Regions from separate parts of the Homo sapiens genome. Here region 1 is linked to region 2. Evidence: promoter capture Hi-C in human tissues and cell types (Jung and others, 2019). All regions are on one chromosome and are shown on one strand. The core of a region is centred on a gene start or on the middle of the fragment in contact, and the rest is flanking DNA. Distances in the headings are between cores, read along the strand shown. Region 1 has its middle 16 kb from the start of COX6C. Region 2 holds the start of NIPAL2 (NIPA like domain containing 2).

Region 1 (5,360 bases), core at 222-2,721, 1.6 Mb after region 2:
CCCTGAGCAACCACATTAATTTTGTTTTGGTGTTCCTGTTTTCTTCCATGTTGAGATTATCCAGAATTATATTTTAATTTTCATTTTTTCCTTTCATTATATTTTCACTTTTAGGTCTTCTCATTCCTCTTAAGCCATTCCATTTTAAGTGGAATCAGACCATATCTAGCTTTTCTCTAAATAATTTAAGAAACACAAATATTCTGTTTTCTTTTAGTCTCAGGTGCCCATTCTACAAATGTTTACTGAGGCTACTATATGCCAGACTTTGTGGTAGTTTCTGTGGAAGTAAGTATGAACGTAGCTCAGTTCCAAACTCTAGAGAGCTCCCAGAGTCCTACAGAGCCCCTGTTTCTCACCTGAACAACAAACACTGTCCTCCAAGCTTCCTGTATCTTTAATATCATCAGCTATTCCCATTATTGGTAGCATTAAGCTCAGTGGATCAATTACCTGTGCTATCCCCCTCTGCCTTCTAGAGAGAGAGATTGACTCAAGACAAGTAAAGATGGGTGCACCCCCAGGAGAGAGTTCTAGGGTGCCCGAAGCCTAACCTAGAGTTTTGTAAGCTTCAATTATTTGCACATCCCTATACTATTATGTACTTAATATTTTTCTTTAGATTGACTCATTTAAAAAAATATACAGCCATCAAAATTTTGGGACACTAACTTGGGATTTCCCAAAGTTTCTATCTCCACCATTCACCTGAGAGGAAGAGCTTTCTATGCATGCACACTATGCTCAAGGGTGATCAACTTGTTGAAGTGATTTAAACCACACAGCAGGCAAATAGTCTTCAAAGCCATGTCTTTTGATTTATCTTTTTTTTTTTTTTTTTTTTTTTTTTTAAGATGGGGCCTCACTATATTGCCCAGCCTGGTCTCAAACTCCTGGACTCAAGTGACCCTCCCATCTCGGCCTCCCGAAGTGCTGGATTACAGGCATGAGCCACCGACCCAACCTGATTTATCTTTTTGAGGAAAGAGAAAATTTTTCTTTTCTTTTTAAGGAAAGGGAAGCGTCTATCAGAAAGCAGGATTATAAAAACAGGATAAGCAATATGTCCAAAATATACATGATTCTCTGCTCAAAGGGAAATAAAATTAGATGAGAGGAGAAGGAGCAGGGAAGAGGTAGCTGGAGCTTGATGCTTCATCAGTGGCAGAGAGGGGGTTCAGGCCAATTCTCGCAAGTGCTGCAGAGCAGTGCTTCTTAAACATTAACGTCATGCAGATTCTGACTCAGCAGGTCTGGGGTGAGGCCTGAGAGTCTAAATTTCTATCAAGTTCCAAAGTGATACTGATGTTGCTGATCCACAGACCACATTTTGAATAGCAAGGCTATAGAACAGCCTAAAAGTTCCCATGTTCTCCCCCAGGCAGATGGGTTCTGAGATTGAGCTGTGGACCTTACAAAGCCAGAAGGCAGGTGAGAAGGGAAAAAAATAGACTTCAGGAGCCAATGCTCAGGCATAGTATGAAGGACTCAGGAAACTGCACCCTGTGAAGGAACAGAGGAGACCTGGCACCCTGTTTTTCCCTGACAACAGAGTAAGAATCAGTCAGTCCAGAGAGAAGAGAAGGAGGAGGGGGCATAATTCTAACAAGGATTCTGATCTGACCCCAGAAAAGATCCAATTTTAAATCAGGATTGACTGAATTTAGTCATACTTTCTGTTGCTGAAGAAGAAATAGGGCACAAGAACTAACCTGAGTTCAGTTATAGAGAAATAAAATTACAACTTTTGCACATGGGAGCACATTGTATAAAGTTCATACCTACTAACATTTTTGTTTGAAAGATTTATTATATATAAATGACATACACCAAATTATACATTTTAAAATAATTTTTAAAATAAATTTTGTATAAAATTTATATCATAGCGGAACTTATGTCAGGATCACTTGAAAACCAAATAATATTTTTCTTTTTTTGAGACAGTATCTTACTCTGTCACCCAGGCTGTAGTGCAGTGGCATGATCTTGGCTCACTGCAATCTCTGCTTACCAGATTCAGGCGATTCTCCCATCTCAGCATCCCAAGTAGCTTGGACCACAGGTGTGCACCATCACACCCAGCTACTCTTTTTTGTATTTTTTGTAGAGATAAGGTTTCACCATGTTGCCCAGGATGATCTCAAACTCCTGGACTCAAGCGATTTACCTGTCTCAGCCTCCCAAAGTGCTGGAATTACAGGCATGAGCCACTGTGCCAGGCCAAAAACCAAATAATTTTATTAATATCTAGTTGAAGGCTCTGAGCTCGACTTTATAAAAAAAAAAGTTAGGCCAGGCATGGTGGCTCACGCCTGTAATCCCAGAACTTTGGGAGGCTAAGCTGGGAGGATTGGTTGAACCCAGGAGTTCAAGACCAGCCTGGGCAACATATTGAAACCCTATCTCTACAAAAAGAAAAAGAAAATTAGCCAGGCGTGGTGGTGCACGCCTGTGGTCCCAACTACTGGGGAGGCTGAGGTGGGAGGATCACTTGGGCCCAGGTGGCTGAGGCTGCAGTGAGCCGCAATCTCACCACTGCACTCCAGCCTGGAGTTTTGTTGTTGTTGTTTTCTCAAAAAACAGTTAAAAAAAAAATTAGAGCCTTTCCACTTAGTCTAGTCTGGTCTAGTCAGATTGATTGAAAGAGTACCAAAAAGGCATTAACTTTTTCATTATATCATTCAACATGTTCAATTTGGAAAATTGCAAATATGTGCCAAGTTGACACACTGGTATGATGAAAGGCCCCATCACTCAGCAGCAGCAACAGTCAAACCATGAAGCATCTTGTTTTCATCCCAATCCCCCAGCCCCTCCCCTCACTGATCACTTTGAAGCAAATCTCAGATATTACATAATTTCATTGGTAAATATTTCGTTATATATTCTAAAAGATATTGTCTAGTATATCATTATCATACCTGAAACAATGATATCTCTTGGTGTCATCAAATATCCAATGTTCAAATTTCCAAGTGTCTTTTTTTTAACTGCTTGAATCAGGATCCAAATAAGGGCCATGCATTGTAATTGGTTGATATGTCTTCTAATTTACTGGTTTTCCCTCTATCTCTTTTTTTCCTCTTGCAATTTTTGTGATTTAAAAAAATGCAGTGCCCATGTACCACTTAAAATCATATTGCAGTGAAAGGTGTCCCACACCCCAGAGAACACTGACTATCCATAGTAACACATTGTGTTATATATAACATATGTATGTGTTGTATATAACACATATATATGTTGAAGACCAGCCTGGGCAACATAGTGAGTCCCTATCTCTACAAAAATAAAAAGAAAATTAGCCACACATATATATGTGTTATATATAACTTGCATATTATATATTCATTTATTATATATACATATATATTATATGTATGTGTGATACGTAACACATGCATATAATCTATAATATATGTATTATATGTACATACATATAATATATATGCATTATATATACATAACACATACACATAATATATGTATTATACATATAACACATATATATAGTGATATATATATATATATATATATATAGTGTTATATATAACACATAGTAGCACATTGTGTTATGTATAACACAATCTGTCCATAGTAACACAATCTGTCCATAGTAACACACTGAAGTTCCTGGCACTCATAAGTATTTGTTGAAGGAAAGAAAGGGAAAGGAAGAAGGGAGGGAGGGTTGGGAAGAAGCAAGAGCAAGAATGAATAATCCCCCACCCACCCGAGGCTGAAGGCGGGCACACCAGTGACTCCTAGGTCACTCTTCCTGCACAACTGTCCATTTTCTTTCCAGAATAAGTTTGTCAATGCTATCTCATTGCCTGTAGGGTCAAGTCCTGAGTCCCCAGAGGCTGGCCTGGAGCCGGGAGCCTATGTCCTCAGGGGCCGTCCTGAGGCTTGGGCCTGTGGAGGCAGAATTAGCCTATAAAATATATGTAAAATACATAAAATATATATAACATAGCCCAAGGTTCTGCTGGGACATGCCTAAACTCTGGGTTCAAGGGTTCTTTTCTTAAGTTTTCTTAAAAATTGTGGTAAAATATATATAACATAAAATTTACCATCTTTCCTATTTTCAAGTGTACAGTTCAATAAAGTATATTTGCATGGATGTACAATCAATCTCCAGACTTTTTTATCTTGCAAAACAGAAAGTCTATACCCATTAAACAACTCCCCAGTCCCCCTTCTCCATGACCCTGGGAACTACCATTCTACTTTCTGTCTCTATGAATCGACTACTTTAGTTTCCTCATACAGGTAGAATCATACCATATCTGTCTCTTTGTGATGGGCTTATTTCACTTAGCATAATGTCCTCAAGGTCAACCATGCTGTAGCATGTGTCAGAATTTCCTTCTATTTTAAGGCTGAATAATAATCCATTGCATGTGTCTTAGTCCATATTGTGTTGTTACTACACATCAGCTCATCTGCTGGTGCTGCCTCACAACATGGTGGAAGGTCAGAGGGGAAACAGAAACACGTGAGAGGCAAAACCTGAGGTGCATCCTGGCTTTATGACAACCCATTCTTGTAGGAACTAATCCATTCCCTCAAGAACAAGAACCCATTACTGTGAGAATGCATCAAGCCATCTGTGAGGGATTCATCCCCATCACCCAGACTCCTCCCACTAGGCCCCACCTCCCAACACAGCCACATTGGGGATTGACTTTCAACATGAGTTTTGGTGGGGACAAACCATACCCAAATGACAGCAGTATGTATATACCACATTTTGCATATCCATTTATTTGTCAATAAATATGTCCAAAAGGAGGCTGCATCCACCTTTTGGCTATTGTGAATAGCACTGCTGTAAATATGCATGTGCAAATAACTGTTTGAGTTCCTGCTTTGAGTTTCTTCACAGATATGCCCAGAAAGGGGGTGATATGGTTTGGCTGTGTCCCCACCCAAATCTCATCTTGAATTGTAGCTCCCATAATTCCCTTGGGTTGTGGGAGGGACCCAGTGAGAGATAATTGAATCAGGGGGATGGTTTCCCCCATACTGTTCTCGTGGTAGTGAATAAATCTCACAAGATTTGATGGTTTTATAAGGGGTTTCCGCTTTCTCTTATTCCTCATTCTCTCTTGCCACTGCCATGTAAGAAGTGCCTTTTGCCTTCTGCCATGATTGTGAGGCCTCCCCAGCCACGTGGAACTGTGAGTCCATTAAACCTATTTTTCCTTCCAGTCTTGGGTATGTATTTATCGCAGCATGAAAACAGGCTAATACAGGGGGATTGCTGGATCATAAAATAATTCTATGTTTAATCTTCTGAGGAACCAGCATACTGTTTTCTGCATATAATCTTTACATTTAAATCAATGTTG
Region 2 (3,795 bases), core at 1-2,500:
CTTGAAAACTAATAAAGTGAACATGCTTATTTATCTTACTTATTCTTTATACAAATATATTCTCTTCTGCATTCAGAAATTAATATTTAGAACACTTCAGGCATAAAAGGAATCCAGATCTTTGATAATTGGTTAAACTCTCCGATTTAGGACAACAGCAACAAATATTTTCTGATTATATTGTTGCAAAAATAAAAGTATCCATGGTTTTGTTAAAGAACAAGAACAAAGTAACACATTTAATGAAAACAGGAGGAAGCCTGGAATCCACCGTGATAAAACTTAGTTGCAATATGAACGCTGCTAGAGGAAGGGCTGGCCAGAACACTTCCTCATCTTAAACCAAGCCAAAAATAAATGGGCGGCTCCAAGTCCCTTTGATTTTGTTAAATGTATATTTCCAGTGTAAACTGGCGTTGTTTAAGTTAACAAAGTTTTCCCAAAGGGCCGGTGGGAAAGAATGAGAGTCCTGCAAATGCAACCTGAGAAAATGTGTTCCTCGCACGGAAATGGAAGAGCTGTGTTGAGATACCAGGGACACACGCAGGGCATCTGCGCGAGGTGACATTAGGCTGCCCTTAATGAGTTTTCTGCTTCTGATAACAGGGTGTCACTTTTTTCTTTTCTTTTAACTGTAAAAGGATCCTGGGGTGAAAATGAGTGAATTGCCCCCACACTCCTAGATTCCTTCCGGGAGAAGAGGGCGGACGCAGGCTGGGGAGGCGGGATCGGGACCCGGAGGTCCCAGGAACGGGTGGCTGAGGTCAAGGCCGAAGACCTGGGCGCCCACTCCCAGTGCCGGGTGCCCGGGAGAGGAAGACTGGGCGGACCCCCGCGCTTCCGGATGAGGCGGACTTAGGTCAATGCGGGAAACATTGCATGTCACCTCTTCCCACTCGGAGAGGCCGGGTGTCTTCCTGAGAGCTGGCAGGAAAGCGGCCGAGGCGCAGAGGCGCCCGGAGCCAGCCGCCCTGGCCGCGTCCCCACCGGGCTGCGGTGGCTGCGGGGCGGCCCTTACCTGGTTCCTGCGGTACCAGTCGCCCGAGAGGGAGCCGTTGCCGGCGCCTGGTGCCCCGTACGTGAAATTCAGTGACAGCTCGTCCAGGGCGGCCGAGGCGGAGTCCCCGGGGCCCGCGGGCGCCACCGCTGCCATGAGGTCTCGCTCCCGGCGCTCGGGCTCCGGCTCGGGCTGCGGCCGCCTCCCCGCCCTGTTGCACCGCGAGGAGGCCGCGCCGCAGCCACTTCCTGCTCGGTGCCCGGGCGAGGCGGGCGCGCCGAGGCCACCTGGCTCCCGCCCCCGCGCGGCCGTAGGTGCTCCCAGCCTGGCCGGGCGCTGCCTCCTCTCCTCCTCCGGTGCGAGGTGTCCTCGGGGAGCCCGGCGGTCTGCGGCCTCCCGGGGCCGTCCAGCTCGCACCGCGCCCTCCTTCCGCTGGGCCAGTGTCTGCATCCTCGGGGCCGCACTGCCCAAGGGGGCAATCCCCGCGGCCGTCCGCAACGGGTCCCCGCGCCTGTCGGGGCCAGAATCAGATCATCTCCGTTGTAAACATTTGTCCAAGTCAATGGAAGAGGAGGAGACACTGACTAACCCAAAGCAGCTATCATCTCCCATCTCTACCTGGCAATTCCAGTCCTCTATCACATATGTAGTGTTTCTCACCGATATTTTAAAAATTGATTGCATATGAAAAAGTCATGAGTTCCCAGAAATATTGTAAGCAATATGAGAAAAAAAGATCCGAGCGATTGAATCTCAGTGCCAGTGCTTGATAGATCCTTAGTAAATATTCCTTGAATGAGGAATGTGGTAGCCATAGGACCCCAGTGTGCGATGACTGGATTGGGTTTGCTTCAGATGGGATCAGGTGGAGTTGCTGAAAAGTTGCCAGCTACTGTATATATGAATTTAGGATGAAAGATAAATGTTGTTATTAATCTTAAGAACTCTAACGAGATGTTCTGGTTTTACCTGTATTCAAATTCTAATGTGTGACCACAAATGATCTGTAGGGTATTTCTCACTTTAAAAAAACCATGATTCTATACTGTTGCCTGAAGGCTGATAGTTGCCTTCTTTTGTTTACACAATGCTGAGGTTTTTCTTAGATAATGTGCTTTGACTTCCATGAGTTCATGAAAGAGAGACCTTCAAGAAAAGAGAATTGCTGCCTAGAAGGGAGCAGGGACAGTTTTCAGTGTTTCTTAGGGGAAATGTGCAAATGAGAGAAAAGAGTGAGAAAAAGTCATTTCACATACAGAAAAAACAAGACATGTCGTCTCAGAAATTGTGTAGTTTCTTGCTTAAGCACTCGAGATGTTCAGTGAACAGCTAACAATTGTAGGTAACTATTCCCAATTTTAAGAGGCTGATTTACTTCAAATAAATATCTGAAGGAAAAAGGTCTCTATTTGTTATATTACATTTTATTTTATTTTTTGAGACAGGGTCTTGCTCTGTTGCCCAGGCTGGAGTGCAGTGGTGTGATCTTGACTCACTTTAGCCTCATATTCCTGGGCCCAAGTGATCCTCCCACCTGGGACTACATACAGGTGCATGCCACCATGCCCAGCTAATTTTTTTTTTTTTTAGATAGAGTCTCTCTCTCTTGCCCAGGCTGCAGTGCAGTGGCACAATCTCAGCTCACTGCAACCTCTGCCTCCTGGGTTCAAACAATGCTCCTGCCTCAGCCTCCTGAGTAGCTGGGACTACACGTGCACACCACCAAGCCCGGCTAATTTTTGTATTTTTAGTAGAGACAGGGTTTCACGGTGTTGGTCAGGCTGGCCTCAAGCTCCTAACCTCCAGTGATCCCCCTGTCTTGGCCTCCCAAAGTGCTGGGATTACAGGTGTGAGCCACCACACCTGGCCCTGGCTAATATTTTTCTATTTTTTTGTAGGGACAGGGTCTCGCAATTTTTCCTAGGCTGGTCTAGAACTCCTGGCCTCAAACAGTTGTCCCACCTCGGCCTCCCAAAGTGGTGGGATTACAGGTGTGAGCTGCCATGCCTTGTCTGATAAGTTTTCTATAACATCACATTCATTGATATTGGTGACTTCATTAATGCTTCTTTCTCTTCACATGCTTTAGGGTGCAAGTAACAGAGTATCCAAATAAAAGTGGCTTAAACAATAATTATCTGCTATCTCCAGAGGAATGTGTCTCTATGTGGTTCTATTATGTCGTCACTTCCACCTTTCTGCTCTGCTATCCCTGAGGTACTGGTCTTGTCCATTGAGGGAGGAAAGCCTTTTCCAGAATCCTCCTGGCATCCTTTCACCTCAGATCCCATTGGCTGGGACTGGGTCACATGCCCATGTTCTACCAGCAAGGGAGGCTGGGAAAGTGATTCTTGGGTATTTCCAACCTAGTGAGAGGTAAGCTCTACCAACCAGGATGAGTGGGAATGCCATGGGGTTATGGGGGAGGGGAACCAGTCAACCCTGGTACAACCACTCTAGTATTTTTCTATCAGCCAGATTGTAAGTAGTTGTACAGTTGCTAACAAGCAAAATACTAAATGGATTGTGTTACTTTCTGGTTTAAAATGCCTTGAAGCCTCCCTATTGCCATAATGAAGTCCACACTTTTTTTTTTTTTGAGACAGAGTCTTGCTCTGTCACCCAGGCTGGAGTGCAGTGGCACAATCTCGGCTCACTGCAAGCTCCGCCTCCCGAGTTCACGCCATTCTCCTGCCTCAGCCTCCTGAGTAGCTGGGACTACAGATGCCCGCCACCACGCCCAGCTAATTTTTTGTATTTTTAGTAGAGTCTGGGTTTCATCGTGTTAGCCAGGATGG

The links. Contacts are between HindIII fragments. The study calls those that stand out against the background at their distance.
Region 1: a contact is called between a fragment that was not itself captured here and the fragment with the promoter of NIPAL2 in region 2, in 1 of the 25 tissues and cell types used here (mesenchymal stem cells).

What each region holds. Positions count from the first base shown.
Region 1 is chr8:99,907,190-99,912,549 of GRCh38, forward strand. No RefSeq gene overlaps it. Among named protein-coding and RNA genes, the nearest start is that of COX6C, 16 kb to the left of the region's middle. RefSeq lists a silencer at 1,119-1,319. The HindIII fragment of the contact is 5,482 bases long and covers 1-4,212 here.
Region 2 is chr8:98,292,985-98,296,779 of GRCh38, forward strand. It overlaps NIPAL2 (NIPA like domain containing 2), which reads right to left and starts at 1,251. Exons shown (of 11, transcript NM_001321635.2): 1 at 1,019-1,251. The coding sequence starts at 1,153. The region is part of intron 5 of LOC105375659 (a long non-coding RNA gene); the gene reads left to right. RefSeq lists a silencer at 771-1,490. The HindIII fragment of the contact is 9,267 bases long and covers 1-3,795 here.